Linked DNA regions of Homo sapiens: regions 2, 3, 4 and 5 are each linked to region 1. The links are contacts of gene promoters, found by promoter capture Hi-C in blood cells and fetal thymus (Javierre and others, 2016). All regions are on one chromosome and are shown on one strand. The core of a region is centred on a gene start or on the middle of the fragment in contact, and the rest is flanking DNA. Distances in the headings are between cores, read along the strand shown. Region 1 holds the start of PCDH9 (protocadherin 9). Region 2 has its middle 240 kb from the start of LINC01052. Region 3 has its middle 200 kb from the start of LINC01052. Region 4 has its middle 81 kb from the start of MIR4704. Region 5 holds the start of MIR4704 (microRNA 4704).

Region 1 (5,509 bases), core at 2,188-4,687:
ATTAACAAACTGAACTGCTTAATAATTTAGGTTATTAAATGCCATTACATGGAAATCATTGTTTAAATATATAAATAGAACAATATTAAACTTGTGGAACACAAAATAATTTTATTAACTCCACATCTGTTTGTGTTTAAATCTGCAAAAGCATTTTAGTCTTCAGTTAGCTGGCTGAAGGTGACTTAGCTTCACAAGTATCCCATGACCTATATAACCAGCAGAAAACACTAAAGCAATTTTACTATAGCTCAAATGGCGTAATTCCCATTAGTATCCTGATGCTACTAATCAGGTACAACACAGGTGAAAACATCATAATTCCTTGCAGTAGAAAATACGCTTTGACAAAGATGAATAAGGGTTAACTAAAGAGATCTAATTAAAAGTCTAATATATATACTGGAAGATCGATATTAGAAATCTAACATTTTATTAAATTCACTAAGGAAAAACAATGATAAAACACAGCATAAAAACAAATAGGTGTTCCCTTACAAAAACTGAAATTAAGAATATTTTCCTGATTCATAATTACACAGACCTAACTTAAAAAATTAATATTGGAGAGGTAGATTATGAACAGCTCTCATTATGAAAATGATTTATATAGTGTTTTGGGAAGAAACCTTAAGTTGTGATAACACAGGGTTAGGAATATGACCCTTTATATTTAATTTTCCTCTAGGAATATTAATAAGATCTCTAATAATAGTTCTCATTTTAGAGTTTAGAAGTCGGATTATTATAGGGCAAACCAGCCTCAACTATTCTAGATTTAAGAGGTAAAACTGAGAACATTAAGGAATCTCAGTCGTTCAGATAATGCCAAATAAACACCTAAAGGATATAATGCCCTGAGTCCATAGCTCTATTTGTCTCTGAAACTCCATCTCCTTTGAAAAGAATCTAGACATATTTCATTCTGGGGCTTTGACCTGTGGTTTTCTTTAATTGAAGTCTCATAGTCATTAATTGAATCATGTGATGATTTTTTTTTTCTCTTCTCTAACCTTCATCTTGTGTTCAAACTAAGATTTCATTTATGAGCAGGAGGTAATAATGGGTTCTGCCAACACGTGAAGCTATCCTTAGCAAAGAGAAACAACTCCGTTTAATAATGATGTTAAATAATTATTGCTAAGCTATGTGTTGCGACTACAACATGACTTTGAAATGACTACGGTATGATTAGAATAAGAATATGATATAACTGTGGTGCTTATGAAATGAACTGGAAAGTGGCTGTGCTGCTATGTTTATTGTAAATGTATCACAATGATGGTTCATTTATTTAAAAACAGTGCAGTGCATAAAATAGGTGACAATTGGAACAATGTACTAGCTTTAATTGTAGATTTTGTGAATGGCAAAATGATCGTTTACTGTGGTAAGATAAAAGAATCATCCTTTCATTCACTGACATTATTCTGTGAGGCAATATTTTTCTTTTCACTTTGGGATACTTGTAAGTCCTTTCTATTCTTGAATTTTATATATTCTAATCATACAAAATATTACTATAATAAAAGTTGCTTTGCTATTTAAAAAATATCAGTCTATTATCTGCAAGGAAAGTATTTTATATTTTACATATAAGGGATTAATGGATTTTACAGTGGGCTTTTAGACACTGCAGTTGAACTGTGAATATTAACTCAGAAAAGTTTGAATTAAAAAGAGCTTACAATTTCATGTTGGAAAATTGTGATGTCAAATTAGTTGGTTAAATCATGTCATTATTTATTCAATATATGGCTTAGTAAGCTTGATTGGTGTTTTTTTTTTTTTTTACTTTTCATTTAAACGTCTAAAAACAAATGTTACTTAAAAAAGAAAAAAAGCAAACAAAACTATTGTACTCAAAAACAAGGGGTAATCTCCAACACGCCCTCAGTCAAGAGCTTAAGTATGTCAAGAGCCTTTAATGCCTAGGCAGCCCATTATAGAATGGGGAACACACAGGTTTAAAATAAATGCCCTTTATTCTTCCTGTAAGTTAGACCAAGTTATTCAATCATGTACTAAGACCTTCTCTGACAACCTTTATAGGTCATTCAGAAAATAAATTTTTGTTCCAAGTGAACTGTTCCTATGTTAATGCTTCAAACTTTACTCAGGTATCAGGCGTTAAGTACAAGCCATTACACAAACCTTTGTGGTTTACTGACTTTGAAAGATCAATCAAATATATTACTAGATAGTGCTTTGGGGGTCAGTATTTGAGAAATAAAGCTGTATTTTTTGGGGAGTCATTCCATCCAGTTCCCGTATGAAAACGAGAAACTTGTGAGGATTTAGTACAGAGCTGGAGTCGGAGAAATGAAATGCACGGGAAAAGACGAAAATCACAGGAAAGAAAGTTGGAATCAGCAGAAAGTGCCTAGGGGAAAGGAAGTGTTCCACAGCTTGGGAAACAGCTGCCTGGGACTCCTTCCAGCCCCTCGGAAGCAAAGTTCGCAGTGAGGTGGGCTGGAAGCGGGTTTTGCAGCAGCCGCGAGTCCGGGCTCAGGTTTCCAGGCGCGGCTGGAGCAGAAGTGCAGGGACCGCCACGATCCACCGCCGCGGCCGGTCCCGCTCCGCTAGAGGAGACTTCGCACGCGCAGCCGACTGGCCCGGGCTGACCGAGGGGACCCAGACGCTGCCACTTTCTCTTTCCAAGGCAGTTTCCGTGGCTCTGCATGTAGGAAGTGCTCCGATTAATTTTCTTTCCGGTCTCCGCAGAGATTCCAAATTCTGCGGTCCCCACCTTTCGCTGTACTCCCTCTCCGCCCTTCTTTCCAATGTCCCTGCCAGCAAAAGCCTCTATTTGCAGCACCGGGCATGTTGTCCGTTTAACGCGCTCCGGGGATCTGCTGGCTCGTGCTCCCAACCCAGGGGTGGCTATACGTCTCGCGCCTCTGTTCCTGGGTAGACTCCCCCATCTGTGCATTTTGGCCCCTTCACTTAGCAAAGAGATGTGCGAAGTGTGCGCCTGGAGACGAGCCGCCTCGGTGACCCCCATCCGCCCGCAGCGGTGGCCCTGGTTCCCCGGATCCGCGCCCGCGCCCTGCGGGTCTCCCGCGCCGCCCTTGCCCGCCGGACCACCCGGGCTCAGAGGGTCGCTCGCTTTCAGCGCCTGCGAGCGCCGCTTCCGCCCGGGCCTGGGGAGCGCCAGCGCGTCCCTCCCACGCCGGACCCTGCAGAGCATGCTCAGTGCACCTCATGGAACCCGGCTCTCCTGGGGCCAGGATCAGATTTCCGGGTTTTCGCTGCTGCCGAGGGGGCGCGGAGGAGGGGAGGCTGGGAGACAGTCAGCGCCTTGTTCCGCGCTCCCTCCCTCGCGCCGGGCTGCGGCCGCCCGCGCCGCAAGATGCAGGCCAATCAGAGCCCGGGGGCGGGGCCTGGGCAGTCACGCCCTCCCTCTGGGCTTATTGAGAGTTATATCAAGAAATTCAGTTCAGAGAGAGGAGAGGGAGAAGGAGAGAGGGGCAGAGGGGAAGGGAGAGAGGGAGAGCACGCGAGACGGAAAGGAGCGCCTCAGAGTCTCTGAAGCACGCAAGAGATAACCGATTAGGAATTTTTCGGGCAACTGTCACCCGGATAGCTGTCAGAGAATCATCATCACCGCAACTCTGACGTTTCCTACAAGAAGTTAGAGACTTAAGCAGTATTGGCATCGGATGGAAATGGTATGCATGCTGCTGTGGAAAATATCCCTGAGCTGAAGAAGTGCAACTATGTGTTGTGTGTGCTAAATGCCCAGAAGAACCCAGACCCAGTGGGTAAGAGAGACGAAATGTGGAGAGAATGACTAACGACAAATCCGTGAATTTGTTCTCTGGAGTTGCTAATTTGCCAGCCCGAAGCAACACATTTTACAAGGAGGAAACATTTTGCTGCTTCTGATTTCTCCCCAAACTGGTGCTACCAGATGCATGGCTTTCTATGTGTTGGAACAAATCATTCCTAACTGCAGCATACTGGGAAAGGGGAAAGGTTGAGGCAACTAACGTAAGTGTAAAGTTTCGCATGCACAATTGTAAATTCTGTGTTTAGATGTGTCCTCAGTGTAGGCGAAAGATGCTTGTAATTGGGTAGACGGTTGGGGCAGAGCTCACCTACTCGGCTGTATCTGCATCCCTACCTGCATCACTCTGCCGGAACTAATCGCGGGCATCAGCTACTGTGCAGCCTAATGCAGATAAGATTAGAGCCTGAGAACTGACCAGTCCTACTCAAGTAGGTAGCTGCCTGGAGCCTTGCACCCATTTAAACTGCAGTTATCTAAGCAGAAGCCTTTTTACCTGCATGATTGGGTTGCAGTATTTATGTGTGGCAAATGTTACTAATATTCTAACCAGAGATCAGGATTAAGAAATTGCATTTTTTTTCTCTTTTATGTTCAGTAGAAAATATTGTGATGTTACATGGGAATGTTAGCTGCGTTTCACTTATATCTCGGCACTCTCTTCCACCTCTAGGAAAATGAATCCTATATTATTATACATTTTTAAAAGTTTTAATGTGTTTATGAATCCTAATGAGGATAATTTGTCAATATGGAGAAAGGAGAGCAAGCTGTGGGCAAGAAATCTGAAGTCTTGTTGTTGTGCTTTTAGGCAATGAGGATGTGTAGAGGCCGGTGACTATTGCTTCTGATGCCGCTGCAGCGGCATGTCCGGATGCTCGTTTCCCAGTAAGATTGTATTAGAAGGCAGTTGAAGAACTGGGAGGAAAGAAAAAGATAGCCTTTTTAGAAAAGATAGGTGACTCAGTGGGGCAGAGAAGAAAACACATTTGACATGTGACAAAGCAATTAGCAGGAACCGTAGCTAAATACTTAGTGTTTTTCACTTGCACCTGAAAAGACTGAGGGAGGTAGGTTAGAGGCTAGGAGGAGGGTGAGACAGGGGGAGGGGAAGAGGAGAACAAGAATGCATGTTTTGAATTAAACAGTATTCTGAAAAACAACGTGCGTGAATATAGGTAAAAATAGCAGCTGTCCTTAATTCAAAAGTAGAAAATTTTATTTTCTCCCGGCAAATGCAACCAGCAGGAGATATTTAGTGTTTTTCTCCACAGAGTAAACTTGCAAACAGTGGCAGAGCAAACTGCCATGTTTACTAATGTTCAGGGGAAAATGTGTGGTGATATTTTGTGACGGTGTGTTTTTATTTACTGAAGAATAATATTGTCTATACAATTGTGTTGACAGCGGCTGTCTCCAAATAAGTGATGAGATATAATGCATCCTCCAGTCCATGCACGCTTCCTCTTGCAATTTGTGCATCATTCCTCAGTGGAAACCTTTAAACCCTAAAATCCAGGAAAAGAAAATAAATACATTATCATGGACCTGAGGGATTTTTACCTGTTGGCTGCTCTGATTGCCTGTTTAAGGCTGGATTCCGCAATAGCTCAAGAACTTATTTACACTATTAGAGAGGAATTGCCTGAAAATGTGCCCATAGGAAACATACCAAAGGATCTGAACATTTCTCACATCAATGCTGCCACAGGGACCAGC
Region 2 (5,509 bases), core at 864-3,363, 1.6 Mb after region 1:
CAGATGTAAACTTAGGCTTAAGTTATATAGTAATAGAATATAGATCCAGGGAGGAAAGAGTCTCAATATATAATTTGATGGTTAGAATTTATCTGGAGATGACAAAGAAAAGCCCACATACATACAGTCTTACTATAGTCCTGAATGCAGAGTTTATTAACAATGTTAATTGCAGATGGTAAGAAGACAAAAATATTTTTCACTGTATTCAAATACTCACTGTAAATCAGATGTCAATAAATACAGGCATGTCTCAAAGGTTACAATTGGAATGAAGAAGTTCCAAAAGTTTTCACTCACTCATGAAGTGAATGAAGTTAATGGGGATTTGCATTTAAAAACATAATAAATGAGATGTTTATTATTCTCTCAAATAACATTTGAAAAAATTATTTCTACCCAATATAAATTTGGTGTAATATATAAAACAACAATGGATGGAAAATAATTGTAGTAACAGTTTGTGCTTAAGTAAGGTGAATTGGCCATCTCACAGGTTCTTTTTTTTTTTTTTTTTAACCAACAGATGGGAGGTCATTTGCTGGCAAGAAAGAATACAAAATCTGCAATTCACAATTTCTACTCTCATAAGTTGACACCAATCCACCTTTGTTGAAAAAATTTCAGAACATTTTCAGTAAGTTAACCAGAGGGCCTTGATGGTTTCTTTTTAAGAACATCTCTACTCCAAGGCACACACGCATCCCACAGTCATTGACTTTATAATGGTTTTTTTTGACACCTACCATATCTTTCACCTAGATAGTATAGATTAACATTAGATTTCAGTTGTAGAGTTTATATATAAGCATTTTAATTTTTCATGTTTTTACCTGGTTTCTTTTTAGAGTATGTCAAATTTGATAAATATACATTTTGTCCATGTTTAAAATACACTGGCAAGGCTTAGACATACGAAATTTCTTTATCACTTTACAAGTTCTGTCATGTGTTTGTTTTTCTATTTGTAGTTTATCTGGGGAGATACGGATAACATTTATGATCTTTACTTGCTCATATGAGAATTGCTGCTGTTAAAATACCCTGAAAACAGCATTTCAAATTAAGCCAAAAATGATTTGCCCCATGCTGTTGTCATCTTGTGTGAGACTTAAACAAGAAACAACTGTGAAATAAAAGCTACTAGGAATGCCCAGAAAACTGAAGTGCAACATAAAGAAACTCAACCATGACTGGATAGTACATTTTCTTTCCCCATGCTTCTATTAAATGAAAAAAAGATGATAATGTGTGAAATAAAATTCCTAAAGACCACAAAACAGACAGATTTTAATTCTAAATATAGCAAAGATTTATAAAATGGCTCATTTCTCTAGTGTTTTGTTCATTATCTAAATGAGCAATGATGCACTGATGGTGTATTAAATGGTGATCCATTTTATGTGATATTTAAACATTTCAAGGAACGCTTTTTGAAATGTTTAATGTTTTAAAATATATTGAGTGTCAATATTAGAAGAATAGTTTCATACTTTGCTTGTTTCTATCAAAATTACTATACATTTATTGCTGGATCAAAGATGCTAATTTTTAGAACAATATTTTTCCAAATGTTTGACTACTGCAGTAGCCATTTTCTTTTCTTTTTTTTTCTTTTTTTCTTTTTTTCTTTCTTTTTTTTTAGAGACGGAGTCTCGCTCTGTCACCCAGGCTGGAGTGGCATGATCTCAGCTCATTGCAACCTCTGCCTCATGGGTTCTAGCAAATTCTCCTGCCTCAGCCTCCTGAGTAGCTGGGACTACAGGTGCACACTGCCACATCAGGCTAATTTTTTGTATTTTAGTAGAGACAGGATTTCTTCATGTTGCCCAGGTTGGTCTCAAACTCCTGAGCTCAGACAATCCACCCGCCTCCCAAAGTGCTAGGATTACAGGTGTGAGCCACCACTCACCACCAGTAGCTATTTTCTTGACAAGTTTTGCTCCATTTTTTAGGTTTTGCAGCTTCTGCCCTGGGATATTATTAATGTAGCACCTGATGGGGTAGAAAAACACCGAACATATTTCAAATCAACCACAATCAATTTCAAAGTATGAGTTATCTGAAGCAGTACAAAAACCATTATTTTGTGTAAAGTGATTTGTTCCATTTCCAAAAATTTTATATTTAATAGACTCAAACAAAGTTTGCAATTAAAACAGTACCGTTAATGAAGGTGTCATTTGAAACACCGATTATTAGGCATTGAAAAGTGTAACAATCTCCCGTATTTACTCTCACATCTGATCACATGTGTGTGCATTTTGGGTAGTGTAATATTATTTGAAGCTGTGTTTCAACTCAAAATTCATGTAATAATAGCCATGTGGAATAAATGTAGTTCAAAGTATTTCCGTAAAAACTCAATTTACTGTTACGCTGATATTTAATAGCCACCATATGATTTTTTTCTTGTGTAGGCCTTAGGAAATTTGACTCAAGATGCACTTGGCCTAATGGAGAATGAAATTTTGTCCTTATGAAAACTTTATTAATAAAGTAAGGAGGCACACTGAAAGACCTGCCTGAGATCTGACTGTTAGTACGTGACAAAGCCAAGATTAAAAAGTAAGTTTGTCTGGCTCCAAATGCTGTACTCTTTCTACTACCAGAGAATATTTTTTAAAGTTGATACTATAATCTTTTACAACATGTAGCCAATTAAATATAAATCAGTAAAGCAATAAGTACAAAAATTAATATAAGGGACAGTTAGTCTATGTGAAGTAGAAGAGGAAGAAAGTTTTGGCAAAATTAATGTATTTACAAACACAATATTAGTCTCTCATAATCTTTAAGTGATCTTAAAATTTCCTTCTTATTTGTGTGTGTGGTTTCATTTTTATTCCAATGCTACAACAGGTATGGATTACAAGAGCTCTTCTTCCAAAGAGTGTTTGCAAATAAACTGAAACAAATTAATGATTTTAATATGTTTACATGCTAAAGTCTGTGTTAACCCATAGACTTTTTCCTAGACAATAAAAATTTTATTGCATTTTCAAGGTTAGAAGCCTTCAGAGAAGAAAAGTTTTCCATACGTAGCTTTTTACGATGATATCAGTTGATCTATATCTGATATCTATAACAAATATGCATTGTAGAAGGCAGATTCAATAAAGAAAATATTAGAACATGGGGAATAAATGGAAAACATTGATAATCAATCATGGTGCTCATTCTCACTAAGCCGGGACAAGACCTCAAAATCCTTCTCAAAAAGTGCTCCAGCCAGCCACTACCAATTGATCAGAGTTGGCATGTAAGTTGAAAACCTATTTACTATCCCTGCCCTCAATTCCATTCTCAACACTGCTGCCAGAATTGTCTTTCTAACATTTCATTCCCCTACCAAAATCCTTCAGTGACTTGACAGTGCCTTCAGGATGAAGTATAGACTCTTGAATATATCATAGAATGCCAGTGGAGTTTCTGCCTATCCCTTCTGCCTCAATGCCAAACCTACTTCCCCAAACTCACAATACAGAAACACACACACACACACACACATCCTAAAATGGACAAACACATACATGACAACACACATTTGGACTTACACTTGTAGATACAAACACAAACACACCTGTACCCAACTCAAATAATAGTAACAATAACAATAAAAAACTAGCAAAACTCTTCCATAACAGTTATATGTATTGTTTTGTTGTTTTCTTTTTCAGCCTCCCACTCCCCTTTCCACTTTTCAAATTGTGTAATTACTACTTAGGCATTCTAATATATCTCTTCCCTGACTACTCGGACTGATTTAGGTACTCAAAGTGTCCCTTTTCATTTCATTTTATTTGTTGTTAGAGACAGGGTCTTGCTTTGTCACCCAGGTTGGAGTGCAGTGGTGTGACCACAGATCACCACAGTCTTGAACTCCTGGGCTCCAGTGATTCTTCCACCTCAGCCTCCCAATTAGCTAGGAATACAGGTGCACACTACTAGCCTTGCTATTTTTTAATATTATTATTTTTTGGTAGAGATTGAATCTTGCTATGTTGCCCAGGAAGGTCTTGAACACCTGGTGTCAAGCAATGCTCAAGCCTAGGCCTCCCAAAGCACAGGGATTACAGGGGTGAACCACTATGTCCTGCCTTATTATTCTTTTGTGTTTAAAAATTATTAGCACTCTATGCACTCATATTGCCAACACTGGATTTTTAGTATTGGCTTAAGTATCTCTCTCCAGACAGACTGTATAGGCATAAAAATAAAGACAAGATAATTGCTTTCTTATTTTTTGATGTTCAGGATTTGCTTACTATAAACTAGGCATTCAACAATTTATTGTTTTATTAAGTGGAACACATTTAGTTTTACTATTTTATAATTAATATACTAATATGCATTTATCACATAATATGTGCTAGTTATAGTTATATATGCCATTAAACTTTGACAATATCCTTTGAAATAGGAACAATATTCCAATTTTAGAAGATGGGAAAACTGGATGTCTTTAGTCAATTTCTCCAGAAGGAGATTCTGAGATGAGGTTTGTTGCAAAAAGATTTAGCTAGAAAGTGCCCAAAGGAGAAACAAGTAGAGAGTGGAGAAAACAGGTTGGGAAAGGTAAAGAAACCAAGAGAGGGTATAATTTCAAGCTAAGTGTGGCCTTATCCCAGAGAGAAGCTGTGAAGTACAGATTATGCTTTATATTTTGTCCTGGAGAAAAATGAGCTAAACGTTCACCCTCCTGCCCCAATTACTCATTGATTAACAATACCCCAGACAGTTGTGAGTGTCCAGGCAAATCCTACTATCTACATGTGGCAAAAAAGCTTCACACTTGCAAATAGGAATCTTTTGAATGGCATCCTTGGTGCGGCAGTTTGAAATAAATAACACAGCTGGGGATGAAATGAACAAAAACAGTGAAAAGCATCTAGATCCAAGGGAGTTTGGGAGGAATACTACCATTGTCAGGTATAGGAGGTTAAATAATTTAACATAAATTCTCCCAAGTAGGCAGTAGAGCTGGTATTGAAACCCTGGGCATCTTATTCTCAATTCTGTGCTCTTAACTACTGTACAGTGCTGTTATCCCTTTTTAAACATTAATTTAGAACTTCAGTCCATCAGCCTGGTCTCTCTGCTCAATTGGCTAAACTCCCAGCTAAGATACATGCTTCACTCTAAAAATTGACTTTGAGGTTTGGCTCTGTGTCCCTACCCAAGTCTCATCTTGAATCATAATCCCTACATGTCAAGGGAGGGACCTGGTGGGAAGTGATTGGATCATGGGGGCAGTGCCCTCCATGCTGTTCTTGCGACAGTGAGTCTGTTGTCATGAGGACTGATGGTTTTATAACTGGCCCTCTCTCTCTCTCTCTTTCTTGCCTTGTTGCTTCTCCTTCTCCTTCCACCATGATTGTAAGCTTCCTGGGGCCTCTCCAGCCATGCAGAACTGTGAGTCAATGAAACCTCTTTCCTTTATAAATTACCCAGACTCAGGTATTTCTTTATAGCAGTGTGAAAATGAACTAATATAATGTCTGAATCT
Region 3 (5,509 bases), core at 827-3,326, 1.6 Mb after region 1:
ATCTCACATACAGAGAGGGATCAAAATACACATAGGATAAAAATACATGGATGGAGGAAGATTTACCAAGCAAATTGAAAGAAAGAAAAAAGCAGGGGTTGCAATCCTAGTCTCTGATAAAACAGACTTTAAACCAACAAAGATCAAAAGAGACAAAGAAGGACATTACATAATGGGAAAAGGATCAATTCAACAAGAAGAGCTAACTATCCTAAATATATATGCAGTCAATACAGAAGCACCTAGTTTCATAAAGCAAGTCCTCAGAGAACTATAAAGAGACTTAGACTTAACACAATAATAGTGGGAATCTTCAACACCCCACTGTCAATATTAGACAGATCAACAAGACAGAGAGTTAACAAGGGTATCCAGGACTTGAACTCAGCTCTGGACCTAGTGGAACTAATAGACATTACAGAACTCTCCACCCCAAATCAACAGAATATACATTCTTCTCATCACTACATCACACTTATTCTAAGATTGGCCACATAATTGGAAGTAAAACACTCCTCAGCAAATGTAAAAGAACAGGAATCACACACACAAAAAAACAGTCTCTCAGACCTCACTGTAATCAAATTAGAACTCAGGATTAAGAAACTCATTCCAAACCTCACAACTACATGGAAACTGAACAACGTGCTCCTGAATGACTACTGGGTAAATAACAAAATGAAGGCAAAAATAAAGATGTTCTTTGAAACCAATGAGAACAAAGACACTACGTACCAGAATCTCTGGGACACATTTAAAGCAGTGTGTAGAGGGAAATATATAGCACTAAATGGCCACAAGAGAAAGCAGGAAAGATCTAAAATCGACACCCTAACATCATAATTAAAAGAACCAGAGAATCAAGAGCAAACAAATTCAAAAGCTAGCAGAAGGCAGGAAATACCTAAGATCAGAGCAGAACTGAAGGAGATAGAGACACAAAAAACCCTTCAAAAGATCAATAAATCCAGAAGCTTGTTTTTTGAAAAGATCAACAAAATAGACCACAAGCAAGACTAACAAGAAAAGGGAGAAGAATCAAATGGGCACAATAGGAAATGATAAAGGGGATATCAACAGTGATCCCACAGAAATGCAAACTATCAGCAGAGAATACTTTAAACACCTCTACGCAAATAAAGTTGAAAATCTAGAAGAAATGGATAAATTCTTGAATACATACACCCTCCAAAGACTAAACCAGTAGGAAGTTTTGTCTCTGAATAGACCAATGAAATTGAGTCAATAATTAATAGACTACCAACCAAAAAAAGTCCAGGACCAGATGGTTTCACAGCTGAATTCTACCAGAGGTACAAAGAGGAGCTGGTACCATTCCCTCTGAAACTATTCCAATCAATAGAAAAAGAGGGAATCCTCCCTCACTCATTTTATGAGACCAGCATCATCCTCACACCGAAGCCTGGCAGAGACACAACAAAAAAAGAAAATTTTAGACCAATATCCCTGATGAACATTGATGCGAAACTCCTCAATAAAATACTGGCAAACCGAATCTGGCAGCACATCAAAAAGATTATCCACCACAATCAAGTGGGCTTCTTCCCTGGGATGCAATGCTGGTTCAACATACACAAATCAGTAAACATATTCCATCACATAAACAGACCAAAGACAAAAACCACATGATTATCTCAATAGATGCAAGAAAAGACTTCGACAAAATTCAACAGCCCTTCATGCTAAATACTCTCAATAAATTTGGTATTGATGGGATGTATCTCAAAATAATAAGAGCTATTTATGACAAACCCACAGCCAATATCATACTGAATGAGGAAAAACTGGAAGCATTCCCTTTGAAAAGTGGCACAAGACAAGGATGCCCTCTTTCACCACTCCTATTTAACATAGTGTTGGAAGTTCTGGCCAGGACGATCAGGCAAGAGAAAGAAATAAGGGTATTCAATTAGGAAAGGAGAAAGTCAAATTGTCCCTGTTTGCAGATGACATGATTGTATATTTTGAAAACCCCATTGTCTCAGCCCAAAATTTCCTTAAGCTGATAAGCAACTTCAGCAAAGTCTCAGGAAACAAAATCAATGTGCAAAAATCACAAGCATTCCTATACACCAATAACAGACAAACAGAGAGCCAAATCATGAGTGAACTCCCATTCACAATTGCTACAAAGAGAATAAAATACCTAGGAATCCAACTTACAAGGGATGGAAGTACCACTTCGAAGAGAACTACAAACCACTGCTCCAAGAAATAAAAGAGGACACAAACAAATGGAAGAGCATTCCATGCTCATGGATAGGAAGACTCAATATCGTGAAAGTGGTCATACTGCCCAAGGTAATTTATAGATTCAATGCCATCCCCATCAAGCTACCAGTGACTTTATTCACAGAATTGGAAAAAACTACTTTGAAATTCATATGGAACCAAAAAATAGCCCACATAGCCAAAACAATCCTAAGCAAAAAGAACAAAGTTGGAGTCATTAACGCTACCTGACTTCAAGGTATACTACAAGGCTACAGTAACCAAAACATCATGGTACTGATACCAAAATAGACATACAGACCAATGGAACAGAACAGAGGCCTCAGAAATAACATCACACATCTCCAACCATCTGATCTTTGACAAACCTGACAAAAACAAGCAATGGGGAAAGGATTCCCTATTTAATAAATGGTGCTGGGAAAACTGGCTAGCCATATGTAGAAAGCTGAAACTGGATCCCTCCCTTATACCTTATACAAAAATTAACTCATGATGGATTAAAGACTTAAATGTAAGACCTAAAATCATAAAAACTCTGGAAGAAAACCTAGGCAAAAGAATAAAAATAGAAAATACAATAAAATCAGGAAAACAAATTGTAATTTAAATGAGAAATTCAACAAAGAGATTACATAAATAATTCTCAAATAGAAATGTTGGAGCTAAAGAATTCAATCAATGAAATGGAAAATACAACTGACCACTTCAACAGCAGACTAGATTAAGCAAAAAGAATAATTTATGAACTCGAATATAGGTCAATTGAAATGACGTATATTCCATTAGAGATGCAGTTAAAAAATTAAAAAAAAGAAAAGAAAAATAATTAATCCAGCCTATAGGACTTATGTGACACCATTAAGTGAATAGGTATCCTTATTGTGAATGTTTTTGAAAGAAAGAAGAAGAGACAGAAGCTTATTAATAAAATAAATCCTGAAAACTTCCCAAGTCTTGTGAGAGATACGGACATCCGGATCGGGGAAACTCAAAGATTCTCGAATAGATTTGAAGCAAAGATGTCCTCTTTGAGGCATGTTATAATCAAATATCAAAAGTAAAAAACAATGGGAGAGTTTTAAAAACAGCATAAGAAAAGTATCAAGTAACATATAAGGAAATATCCACGGGACTATCCGAAGATTTCTCAGTAGAAGTCTTGTAGGCCAGGAGAGAATGGAATTATATATTCAAAGCACTGAAAGGAAAAAAAAAAAACCTTCCAACCTAGAATATTATACCAAGCAAATCTGTGCTTCAGAAATGAAGTAGAAATGAAGTCTTTGGCAGTCAAGTAAAAGCTGAGAGAACTCATTACCACTAGACTCTCCTTACAAGAAATGCTTAAAGAAGTTATTCAAGTGGAAACAGAAAGACAATCATTACTATCATGAATACATATGAAAATATAAACTTCACTGCTAGAGGTAAGTAGTCAAGTCCAGAATACTCTAATACTGTAATGCTGGTGTGGTAAATCATACATATCTCTATTGTGATGGAAAAATAAAAATTGTCAAAGATAAAGATATGCAATATAAAAATATGTAAATTGTGGTATCAAAAACTTAACTTGTGGGGAGGATAACATTCTAGAGTTTTTAATGCAATAAAAGTTATCAGTTTAGAATAGATAATAAGATATTTTATGTAAGCCTCGTGAAAAACACAAAACAAAAAACTACAGAAAATTTATGGATGATAGAAATAAAAGTTTAACACTACAGAATCCTATTAAATCATGAAAGTAGACAACAGAGATAAAAGGGAACAACGGAACTACAAAAGAATGAGAAAACAAACAACAAAATATTAAGTCCTGACTTATAAATAATAACCTTAACTCTCAATGGACTAAATTTTCTAATCAAAAGACATAAAGTGACTGAATGGATTAAAAAAATAGACTCACCTATATGACACCCACTAGAAATCTTTAAGGACACATATAGGTTGAAAGTGACAGGGTGAAAGAAAATATTTCCTGCAAAAGATAACAAAAAGAGAGGAGTGATGGCTATCCCTATATCTGATAAAACAGACTTCAAGTCAAAAATTATCACAGGCAACAGAGTCGGTTATTATTTAATTATCAAGGGGTCCTTTAATCAGGATAATATAATTACTGTATATATATAGTGTATATATATAGTGTGTGTATATATATAGTGTGTATATATTTATGTATATACACTAAATGTTGGAGCACCTAAATATATAAAGCAAATATTAATGGACATGAAATACTGGACTTGAATTACACTTTTGGCCAAATGGACCTAACAACATTTGTAGAACTTTTCATCCAACAACAACAGAATATACCTTTTTTTGTCAGTGCACATGGAACATTCTCCAGGATAGATCATATCTTAGTCCACAAAACAAGTAAGATTGAAATCATATCCATATCATCTCATACAACAATGTTATGAAACTAGAAATCAATAATAGAAGGATTTTAGAAAATTCACAAATATGGAATTTGTGATTTTAGAAAATTCACAAATATGGAATTTGTGAAAATTAAATGTCATTCTCCTAAACAACCAATGGATCAAAGAAGAAATCAAAAGGGGAATTAAAAATAACTTGAGACAAATAACAATGGAAACAAAACATACTATAACCTATGAAATGCAGCATATGCAATTGTAAGAAGGAATTTTATAGGAATAAATGCATACATTAGAAAAGAAGTCCCCAAATATATAGTCTAACATTATTTCTTAAGGAATGAACAAAAGAAAAGCAAACTAAACCCAAAAGTAGCAGACAGAAGAAAATAATTACAAATCAGAACAAAAATAAATCAAATGGAGAACAGAAAAACTACAGAAGTAATCCATAAAACAGGTTTTTTTAATAAACAAAATTGACAAAGTTTTAGGTAGTCTACAAAAAGAAAAAAGACTCCAATAAATGAAAAATAAACATGAAGAAATTAAAACAGACACCTCAGAAATGAGATAATATTAAGGGAATATTATGAATAATTACTTGCCAACAAATTGGATAATCTAGAGGAAGTGGATAAATTCCAACAGGATGTAATCTACTAAGAGTAAATCAGGGAGAAATAGAAAGAGTGAACAGACAAATACAAAGAAATAAATTGAAGAATTAATCAAAAACTTACCCCAAAAAGAAAACTCAGCACCAGGTGGCTTTACAGTGTAATTCTACAAAATTCAAAGAACTAATACCCGTATTTCTTATACTCTTCCAAAAAATAGATGTGGAGGAAATACTT
Region 4 (5,509 bases), core at 1,326-3,825, 1.1 Mb after region 1:
GCTCATTTGGTTTCTGTTTTGTTATTTGTCAAAAAAAATTTGTGAACTAAAAAGTTTATCCATCTTGGATAGTAAAATTGGCAGGAAATCAGACTTAGGTACAGAAGCTGAAAGTAAGCCTAGTGTGGGAGATAGAGGATAACCAAAAACAAACAAAAAACAACAACAAAAACCATTCTTTTGATTCATGATACTACCATTTGTTCAGTCATCCATCCCTCAGCCTAGAAGCCATGCTATAAAAGCTTATCTTAATTTCACTTCTTGTTTCCAAACAGTTATGATCCTAACCATTCTACTCTGACAGATTTTTAAATCTGTTCCCTTTTTAGCATACCAAACATTATAGCCCCAGTTCATGACCTAATTTGCAATTTCACCAGCAAATTTGTTGCTGATTTTACCTACTGACTTTCAATATATAAAGCGAATATGCTTAGTCCATATTTGGTTTTAATTGTAATACTTACATCTGTTTTTCTACATGTAATACCACCATATCTTTTTCTTAAAAAGTGCATACTAAATTTCAACTCTGTGTCCTATACTATACTAAAGAATACAGGAGAGATGAAAACACGTTTATCTCGCAAAATACCTATTCTTGAAGTGTTTATATCTAAGTAGAAGAAAAAAGCTAACATATGTCAAGGACAACTGGGACATGCTGTAAGCTTTGTAAATATTTGTGGAATGACTGAGTAAAGTTTAGCTTTGTAAGGTAAAGATCATAAGCACGATGGTAATGTAGAAATGAAGGAAATCAATGCTTATTACAGGAAGGAGATGCCAGTAAAAATATAGGTAGACATCAAAGAATTGGGTTAATTTGAGGAAGTACATAGTGGAACATAGTCTTCATTGACAGAAACAGTGGCCTCAGATACTAGGATTTTTGTTTGTTTGTTTGTTTTTTTAAAAAAAGGCTAACATACAGGGGCAGAACCTGGAATTTTCAAAGAAAAATTGCGGGAAAGAAACATATTCTATGAAAATGTTTTGTCATCTTCCAAGTTTACATACCTTGCTTTCTTCCTCATGCCTGTTAGCCTTGACCCGGGAGTTATCCCTAGGTGTTACCTCTTGCACACACACTAGGTGTGAGTACTGCTTGCTCTCATTTCTTGGTATCTGGCCCCATCATATTCTTCATTCATCACTGTTTTCATGGGGTTTTTTTTGGCATGCTTTATATACCTCTTATGGGTGTGCCATAGGTGTTCTGAGACTATAATTTCTAATTCTGATAAAGATCGTATGCTGAAACATGGGCTACAAGCTGGTGGCTCAGTTTGAAAAGCACAATCATTGTACAATCTAACAAGAAATAATCCCAACTAAAAACAAAGCAACAGACCTTTTACTGGCAAGATCAGAAGATGACATCTGTTAAGCTCACCTGGCAGAAGTGGTGCTTTTGGTCCACAAGGGAGCTGATGAAAAGGGAAGTGGAAAACACACATAGAGAACATGGGCCTTCGTGGAGAGATGTCAGTAATTAGGGGAATTTGCTTATGTGCTGCAGATGGCAGACACCAGAACCACATAATGTGTATGAATTTATACGTGTGGTTGGTTTCTTAGTAGAGAAACTATCACTAGTTTTATTTTATGAGTGTGGCTGTAGCTCCAATTCAGTGGTAATGGTCTGTATTCTGATATGAGTAAGAATAGGCGTCTATGTTTATGAACAGGATATGCCCTTTTAAAAAGTAGAACTGAACTGTCTTTGACACGGCATTTCTAAATGTTCATTTACAGAAGGGGGAGTTTACAAATGGTTATTTTGCTGATACATCATTTAACACTTGGGTGGACATAAGTAGCAAAATTGCCCAATTTTAGTTTTCGGTTAAAAACCAAGTCTGCTGGATGTGCTTTTGTATAACAGCTAGGTTTAATCCTCTGAAATAGTTAAGACAGTCTAGAAGGGTGAAGAGACAACAGTGGACAGTGAGGGAAAGTAGAGAAAATGTCAGCAACATCATTGATATTATTCTTATCTTTTTTTTTCCGAGCCAAAGGCTTTGAGAGAACTTTATTCTGTACCCGAAATTTGTGCTTTATCATATGCCTTTATTCTCCTATTACTCCTATTTTATTTTAAAGTTATTGATTAAACACAGGCTGTAGAGAAACCTGGACAATACTTTTATTCTAAAATTAAATTGCTATTGTTTGCTCTCTTGCTCTATTTCGTAATACGTCATTTGTGTAATTGAAGAAGAAGACAAAGATGTCTTGGAACCATGATATTGTTGGAGACACTCACGTTAGGGAATTTGAGGTAATCATCAGATTCATTAGATCTAAACTGGACATTCAAATGAGAGAATAGAAGGGAAAAAAGGCCAGTGGGTAGAGAGATAAAAAATAATATAGCCCTTATATTTTCAGAGTATACATTACAGAAGAGTTAAAAAACCATTCAAAGCCAGAGGCTGCATGCAGAACTTAGCAGGCTGTTCAAATGGAGAAAGATAGATTTGTACATTGGTATCAACTCTGGCCACAGTCTGACTCTAGTGCTTATGACTGATATTCCTTAGCCTCTAGGGCAACATTCAAGCACATGGGCAGAAAGAAAACAGAAATGGTTGAGCTCAGAAGAGAGCATTTATGAGAGCATTGCAAACAGTTCATTTTAAGGGTTTTCAAAATATGGTTGTAATATTGCTCAGTGACTTCATTCTGAAGTCTCTTAAAAGCACTCTCCTCAAAAATTGTAAGCTCATAAACACAGTTCTTTTGCTTCTTTCATTTTCAGTTCTACACTGTTCATTTCAGCAGTGAAAAATGGGAGTGAAAAAGATTGACCTGTGTGGTCAACTTAGACCTTAAATCTTAATTTGGCATACAGGAATCAAAATTATTAAATAGTAATCTCTGTCCTGTTTTTTAAAAAATAGGTATTTACATAGCTAAAATATGTCAAAAATTTGTATTGATGTCACATTTATCTGCCATCTGTGACACAGAAGCAAAGTTCTCTAATTGCTGACATCCTTTGGGTTACATGTATGTGTTTTCCACCTTCCTTTTTTTCAGCTGTCTTGTGGACTAACACAAAAGAATTGAAAATATTTTTAACTGTCAGAGTATATAATAGATGATACTTTCTTAACATCTGCTTTTTCTTGCTCTTCAGCTAGAAATTTCTATCAGATACATCATTGCTAGTAACTAGAGTCAGTGAAAGGATAGTTTTCTACTTCAATCACTTGTGACATTGCCTCTAAAAATTATAGACAGCTGCTCAGAATTGATTGAGGATGACCTCTTACCAACAGCCAGCAAGAAGGCAGGCCCTCAGCTGAATGGCCACAAGGAAATAAATTCTACCAACACTGTGAGAAAATTTGGATATGGAATCATCCTCAGTCAAGCCATCAGATGAAAACACAGCCTGTCAAATACCTTGATTATAGCCTTTTGAGACCCTAACCAGTCAGGTAAGTCATACCTGGACTCCTGACCACAGAAATATGAGATAACAAATATATGTTGTATGAAGTCTTTAAGTTTGCGGTGATTCACTACATGGCAACAGATAGCTATCCACCTGTAACTTTATATTTGAAGTCTTAGCAATGTAAAAATGATAATGAGACTGGATGAAAGGGCAACATGAAGATGAGTGTGCATTTACATGGGAAAAAATTATTAACTAGAGACAAGTTTACACTAAATAATGTAACAAAAGACATGTTGTAGTAAAACCTTGTCACAAGATACATACCTCCTACATATGCATTAGTATAGAAGTCAACATTTGATGGCAATGAAGTTACAAACAAGAGAATATGTCTCATATTTCTCTCACTATAATTTCCCTTAAAGTTATAAATAAGACCTATTGTTAAAGATCATGTCATATGTAACTAACCATGTCCTAAAATTATGACCACACTCTACTAGCTCTTTAAAATATATTATAACTTGTATTAACAATATCTATGCTATTTCAAATGTATTTGTTGATTAAGTAACATGCAATAAATGCTGTGTGAGTATTTCAGTATTTAGGGGAAGAAGTTATAATATAGAGGGACACCAATGATTCTGGGGTGCTTAGAAGCAAAAAACAAAGGAAAAGAAATGTGGGGACTGGAACAAGTAAACAGAAATGGACTGGGGCAAGTGTTCTCTTGGCCTTTGCTTCTTCCTGGGCTCTTCACACTTGCACAACAGCTCTCCGGCTTGTGACAAGCCAACAAGTTGATAGTTAAAAAAGCCAGAGAGCAAGCCTTCTTTTTCCTTGTTTTTCTTTCCTTTTTGTGTGTTTTGTTTCCCTACCTATATGTAGAAGCTCAAGAGTTCAATGTCATGGGTGTAGAAAATGCTCCAGGGTGTCACTTCACCTGTTTTTAGTTTGGGACTTAGTGTCATGGGTCAAAGGAAAATAATTTGCTAAGCTAGGCCAGCTCAAGAATCTTATATATACTTTATTCTTTAAACTATAAACTAATAAGCTTTTTATTTTAAAATACTTTTGGTTTCCCAGAAAGTGGGAATATAGAACAGAGAGTTCCCATATACCTCATACTCAGTTTCCTATATTATTTACAATATACATTAGTATATTTGTACTAATATTGTCATAGTTAATGAATCAGTATTGATACATTATTACTAACTAAGGCCCATACTCTTTTTTTTTTTAGATTTTTTTAGTTTTACCTAATGTGTTTTTCCCCCTGTTCCGTGATCCTCTTTAGAATACTATATTGCATTTAGTTGTTATGTTTCTTTAGGTTCCTTTTGACTGTAAGAACTTCATATATCCCTTTGTTTTTGATGACACTGACAGTTTTGAGGAATACTGGTCAGATATTTTGTAGCAACCTTTAATTGGGATTTGTCTAATGTGTCTCTCATGATTGGACTAGAGTTATGGAGTTTTGTTTGGAAGACTGCAGTGGTAAGTTCCATTCTCATCAGATCATAGCAATAATACATGAATCAATGACTTAATCAGTGTTGATGCTAATCATGATCACCTAGCTAAGGCAGTCTATTCCAGGTCGCTCCACTGTGAAATTATTCTCTATATTACTCTTTGCAAATAAGCCACCAAGCAACCCACACTTAAGGAGTACGGTATTTCATATGGAGTTTAAAGAATGGTAGGTATCAGGGTAGCATCTTTACAAGGGACATAGTAAAATGATATAATGATAATATAGCCATATTGGCATAGACATATAATATGTATTCTCAAACATCTATCAAATCTATCAATGTATTTAATATTTGTTTCCACCTGTCTACATAAAAATTCTATTTTTTTCCAAGTTGTGTATACTTCAGTGGTAAGGAAGACATTCAGTGACCTAGAGAGAAATGGAAGAGTTTACAAGGCTCTGAGTTTTTGACCTATCTCCTAAAACATTTTAGTCAGTCATATTGCAGAGAAGTAGCATAGACTAAAAAAAAAATAATGCTTGAAAAAAAAATCATGAAAAAAGCAGGAGAAGAAAAGAATCTCTGAACTGGAGAAAACTTCATC
Region 5 (5,509 bases), core at 1,401-3,900, 1.0 Mb after region 1:
TACGAAAGTCCCAGATGTGGCCTTCGAGCATGTGATATGTCACAATAGGTAACAGGGTACAGATGGAAGCAAAGTGTGCAAACTGCTAGGGTTTTTGAGACAGAAAACAAAAACATGTCATATAACCACTCATGAACTTTATTTTCTTTTAATCCATAAAATGGGTATAAAATAAAGGCTGACTTTGGATCCAGGGCTGCAGTTCAGGCAGCAGGTGATGGCTCATTATGCTGACTGCTTGTGACAACAATTCAATTTGAAATTTTGGGCATTCATTCTGATTGGTTCATGTAAATGCTAGACAAGTTACTAACTATTCTGAGGATCACTTCTGCTTACATTATAGGATTTTTAGGTGAATATACCTCAGATAGTTTATGTTAAAGTGCTTTATAAAACATGTCAATGATAATGGTAATGTTTGCTCAGGAAGAATTTTGTCAATTTACAATTTAAAACAGCTTGCAGGTATACTTCATGATATCAAAACCTTGACTTTAATTCCCCAGGGCCTATCTGCTATAAATGATGAGATTCTATACTTTGTGAACTCACCTACCTACATAACTAAAGACAGGGACTATGATTTGTAGCAGGGACTGGGAAAGAATTTGCATGAATCGGATTCCTGTTCTTGGCAATTTTAACTAAGAATATTAGAATGAATTTGTCAGTTGGTAGAGAAACAGAAAAGGAAAATAGAATGACAACCAAAATACAAAACAAAACCCAGAACACAACCCAGCCTTCTGTTAATTATCTGAGTCGTACTTAAGGGGAGGACACTAGAGTGAAAGTCGCCACATATTGCTAAGGTCCCCAGGGCTTCCTTGAGTCTAGAAACCTTTCACAACTTGGTCTTGAGTAAGCCCAACCTTGTGAACATTTAGTTCTTAAATGAGTGTGGATTGCTTCTTAATATCTCTAACAACATACTATTTTAATTTGATCTATTTTTGATGACTGTTTTATCCTTACAGCGAAATTATCCAAATTAAGATAAATGACTTATCTAATATTGTATTCTAATATCTAGCAAAATGCCTTGCATAAAATAGGCAATCAAATACTTAAAAAGAAAATATCTATACTAAAACCTTTGTTTTGTGAGTTTTAAATTGTCAATACGTTCTTTCATATATATGTATATTGAAGAAAAATAAATTTTATGAAATAGAGAGGAATCTTAAAATCCATTAAGGTAAAGATTTTGTCTTTTCAAAATGTCTCCAAGTCATATAATTTTTCCCTACATATGAATTGACCTAAAAACTACTTTTTTTTTTTTACTCTTTTAAAATACATACCATAAATTGCCCTTAGACAACATTAGTATTCCTGTTTGAGTTGATAAAAACCTTTGTAGTTCACTGCCATCTTCATTATGCATGAAATGTGACTATATGGAATATACCGTGACTCTAGGAGCAATAATGTATTACCTTGAGGCTTACATAGATCAAAATCTGATGGCTAGATTGAGAGATAGGATAAAATGGAGGTTGAACAAAATTATTTTTAGTTGCGGTTTCTTGACTTGACAGAATAAAGTTTTATGACTATTTGGTCTATTTTATAGTGAGTACCATGAATCAGTCAAGAAGGTTGATGACCAACTTACAACACTACTGGCTCTAATAATGTGTATTCATCTCTTCATTTTCCATGATAATATTTTGTCATTTTAAAATTCCATTTTTATTAGAGTCCACCTAAGCATATTTTTTTATCACCACAATACTTCCCACAATGTCTTGTTCGAAACTTATCTCTGATATATATAGTTCATTAAATGATTCATATTTCAGTCCTGGTAATAGCCCAGGGAATGTAAATCTTGAATGAAATAATTTACAGAGAAAATTATAAAACTCATTATGCACGAAGAATGAGAACTATGTTTACATAGATTTACTTTTTATTCCTAACTGAGGGTGGCTTTCTACCAATGTTAATTATCCCTTTTGGTTTTTAATTGAATTCCTAAGTTTTAGATTGGCACAAGACTACTCGGCAAATTACTGCATTCCCCAGCTTCATTTGAAGCTCTCTGTGAGTGGAGATAATGTGAGTGGAGATAATACTTTTATGTAGCTCTTTTAAGAGGGGATTTTGCCCTTTCCTCCCCAACTGAGATATAGGAATGATTGCAAGAGCTCAAGCAACTTCTGTAATCCAGAAGCTAGAAACTGCATACTGAGGATGACAGGGCTGTCCTATGAGCCATATCTGGCTGAAACATACCATCAAAGAGAGATATATGACATTTCAAAGCTTCTATAGTTTTTGGTCTTTTTGTTGTAGCAGCTCAGACTGTACTCTAACAGTACAGTAACATTTTAAAATTCAATTTCCATTTTATGCCTCCATTATTTCCTCATGTTCATTCCTTTTAAAGAGGCTATTCCCATTTGTTCAGCTGAGAAAGCCTTAATTCTTATTCTTTTTTGATGTGATACTTGTCTTGCTTCATCCACTGTGGGCTCTCTTCTATGTTTCGTAAGCACTATGGTCATCCAACTTTCTGTCGTTATTTATGGGCATTTAAAAATCAGCTATAGCCCTTTTAATTTGCACCTTGATGGAAGTAAGGAAATGTAATTCATTTCTATATTTCCATCCTCAGCCCTTAGCACATTGCTTGGCACATGCTATGATTCAAGAACTGTGTTTTGGATGCATGAACACAGAGAAACCTCCAAAAAGGGAATCTAAACCAGAGAAAAGCAGCCTGGGGACCTTGGGTTGGGGAGAGAGGAGCTACCTCACTGCTGGGCTTCCCTAAGGACTGAAGAATAAGGGAGAACACCAGAAACTGAATGCTTGATTGTTATGCATCTGTGCCTCAGGGTGGGTTTTTTTTTCCCTTAATTTTAATTTTAATTTTTTAGTGCCAGCTGGCAGAGGCCACTCTTCCCCTACCAGCTGCCTGCCTGAGGTGCTGGCCAGCTGCCGGCAGCTGTGCTATGGAAAGAGAGCCCACCAGTACCCAAGACAGACCACTGAATATCCCTTCTGTAAGCTTCCTTGATAACTCCCCTTTCTTAACATCTAACCCTGCGAGTTGTTATCCTTTGAACAGACAACTTTCTTCAAGGATTGAAGTGGATGTAGCTCTCTAAAAAAAGGCTTAGTGGATATCAACTTTATTTTCATGACCTTGTTTATATATTCTAGTCACACTACATATTTTTGTTTGTGACTGTCATGTGTGGAAAGGTGTTCCAGGACCTAAATATCATAACAAAAATAGGCATCTCAGTTGAGTGACTGCTTCTTTTCTCATTGCTTTTCCTGGTAAGTGAGATTGTTCAAGAAATTCTTCTCCCTCTTTTTTGGCTTCGGGTTTGTATTCTTGTTCCTATCAGTAGTGACCATAAGTTGTCACCTAATGGAATTAGTTCAGTGACCCTTACAAACTAAATTAACACTCTATCTCCAGTTTCTACTGGATATGTGTCTAAATCACAGTTGGGCACCTTGTTAGCTGCCTCAGTTAAGAGTTCAGTGAAAGAATAAGCCATCCTCCCCTTTCATCCCTAGGGGCTGTCTCTTAGTGTACTAGAGGCTCATTAGCAGCCTTGTAACACTGAGATTGCCCACAGTATACTTATTCTAACAGGTTTTCTTACTTTGAGACATGGTAAATGTCTATTGCAAATCCTGTTGACATTTAATTTTCAAATTATCTTCTGTATTTGTTTGCAATTTACTCATAATATATGCATAATTCCAATCTGTTGAAATATTGATTCTGATTTACGATTTAGTAAATTAAGGAATGGTTGGGTTGCATATTAAACTTTGGAAGTGACTCACAATATATTACATTTATATTACCCTTTAGAGTTGCACAAAGTCCTTCCATAAATACTGTCTATGAGCATAATGGGGAAAAGAATCATGTTTAATTTATCTTTAAATCCTTAGGGATATAACCCAATGCTAGCACATGAAAGACACATAATACAGGGTTTTTAGTGAACAACCAATCAAAGAGGATGATAGATGTGATAGTCTTAAAATCTACCCACAAATTAGTTGATACTTCTTGTATTTGTTTTCTATTGATGCTGTGATAAATGACCACCAAGTAAATGGCTTAAAGCAACACAAATTTAATATCTCACATTTCCTGAATTTAGAAGTCCAAAATGGATCAAAAATCAAATAAGGGCTCCAGCCTTCCAGAGGCTTGAGTTGAGAATCTGTTTCCTTGCCTTTTCCAGCTTCTAGAGGCTGCCTTGCCTGGGCTTGGCCTCACTCTGACCTCAGCTTTTGTCATCTCATCTCCTTCTCTGACTCTGACTCTCCTGCTCTCTCTTATTAGAACCTTTTGTGATTACATTAAGCCTGCCTGGATTATCCAGGATAATCTCTCCATCTCAAGATCCTTAACTTAATCATATCTGCAAAGTTTCCTTTGCCATGTAAAGCATAGCATAGATCTCTGAGATTAGAAAGTGGCATCTTTTGTGGGGGGTGGGAGGCATTATTTAGCCTACCACACTCAAGATGTTAGTCTAACTCCCCTCCTCTTGAATATGGACTGACCTTAGTGAATTGTCTAAGGAATAGAGTACAATTTAGTGACACTACAGGACTTTTCAGGTTAGGTTATTTGAGTCAATACAGTTTCTACCTGGCTCTTTTTGTCTTGGGTTTTGAAACCCTAAGCTACAATATAAGAAGTCTGGTTTCATTGAAGTTACTATGTGTTAGAGAGGCCAGCTGGAGATCACATATACACATGGTGAGATCACACAGAGAGATGATCAAGAGACAAGAGGTGTTCTAGCCCCCAGATGTTTGAGTCTTCTCATTCTAGACACTAGATATGTGACTGATTGAGTGAGGAAGACAATCACTCACATGCCTAGTGTCTAGGATAAGAAGATTCATCCTTAAGATGACTCCAGTCCCAGCCACCAACTGACTACAACCATAGAAAAGACTCGAGAAAGACTGCTGCCCGAGGCTTGGCAGAAAAAAATGTGTGAATGAAATCAATTAAAGGTATTGTTTTAAGCTACTGTTTTAGGGTAATTTACTATGGAGCAAGAGATAATCAGAAAAAATATAAAATATTTTTCCAACTTTAAAGATAAGAAAACAGAAGTTTAAAGATGTCAGCATATAGAAACATTCATGAAGCAAACCCAAATTAGAGAAGAATTAGAGTAACATCGAAAGTACTGAACAGGATCCTGGCCAGATCTCTGAAGTCCAGGTTCTAACGTTTGCTTGTGTGACTTTAAGTATGAGTCTTAATATCTCTGTGTCTCAATCTCCTTATCTGCCTTATCTGTAGAATGATAATAATAATAGTACCTACTTCATAGGTATATTCTGACTATTAAATGGTATAATGTAGATAAACATAAAAGAGTACCTGAAATTATTAATGCCACCAAATTATAAGCTATTTTTTAGTGTTTCATTATCAATTTAGTGCCTTTCTCAGGCTTACCAGTTTCCTTCCAAATAGCACTAAACTCAACTCATGAAT

The links. The method cuts DNA at HindIII sites, captures the fragments that hold promoters and counts their contacts. A CHiCAGO score of 5 or more calls a contact.
Region 2: a fragment that was not itself captured here is called in contact with the fragment with the promoter of PCDH9 in region 1 in 1 of 17 cell types (M2 macrophages); the score reaches 5.9 in M2 macrophages.
Region 3: a contact is called between a fragment that was not itself captured here and the fragment with the promoter of PCDH9 in region 1, in 2 of 17 cell types (M0 macrophages and endothelial precursors). The highest score is 5.8, in M0 macrophages.
Region 4: a fragment that was not itself captured here is called in contact with the fragment with the promoter of PCDH9 in region 1 in 2 of 17 cell types (total B cells and naive B cells); the score reaches 7.6 in total B cells.
Region 5: a fragment that was not itself captured here is called in contact with the fragment with the promoter of PCDH9 in region 1 in 1 of 17 cell types (fetal thymus); the score reaches 5.5 in fetal thymus.

Annotation. Positions count from the first base shown.
Region 1 is chr13:67,228,264-67,233,772 of GRCh38, reverse strand. It overlaps PCDH9 (protocadherin 9), which reads left to right and starts at 3,437. Exons shown (of 5, transcript NM_203487.3): 1 at 3,437-3,993; 2 at 5,198-5,509. The coding sequence starts at 5,333. RefSeq lists a silencer at 3,027-3,166. The HindIII fragment of the contact is 4,939 bases long and covers 1,770-5,509 here.
Region 2 is chr13:65,625,727-65,631,235 of GRCh38, reverse strand. No RefSeq gene overlaps it. Among named protein-coding and RNA genes, the nearest start is that of LINC01052, 240 kb to the left of the region's middle. The HindIII fragment of the contact is 5,353 bases long and covers 1-4,789 here.
Region 3 is chr13:65,668,207-65,673,715 of GRCh38, reverse strand. No RefSeq gene overlaps it. Among named protein-coding and RNA genes, the nearest start is that of LINC01052, 200 kb to the left of the region's middle. The HindIII fragment of the contact is 2,199 bases long and covers 977-3,175 here.
Region 4 is chr13:66,134,657-66,140,165 of GRCh38, reverse strand. No RefSeq gene overlaps it. Among named protein-coding and RNA genes, the nearest start is that of MIR4704, 81 kb to the left of the region's middle. The HindIII fragment of the contact is 3,798 bases long and covers 677-4,474 here.
Region 5 is chr13:66,217,634-66,223,142 of GRCh38, reverse strand. MIR4704 (microRNA 4704) reads right to left here and starts at 4,893; the gene lies at 4,819-4,893. The HindIII fragment of the contact is 748 bases long and covers 2,277-3,024 here.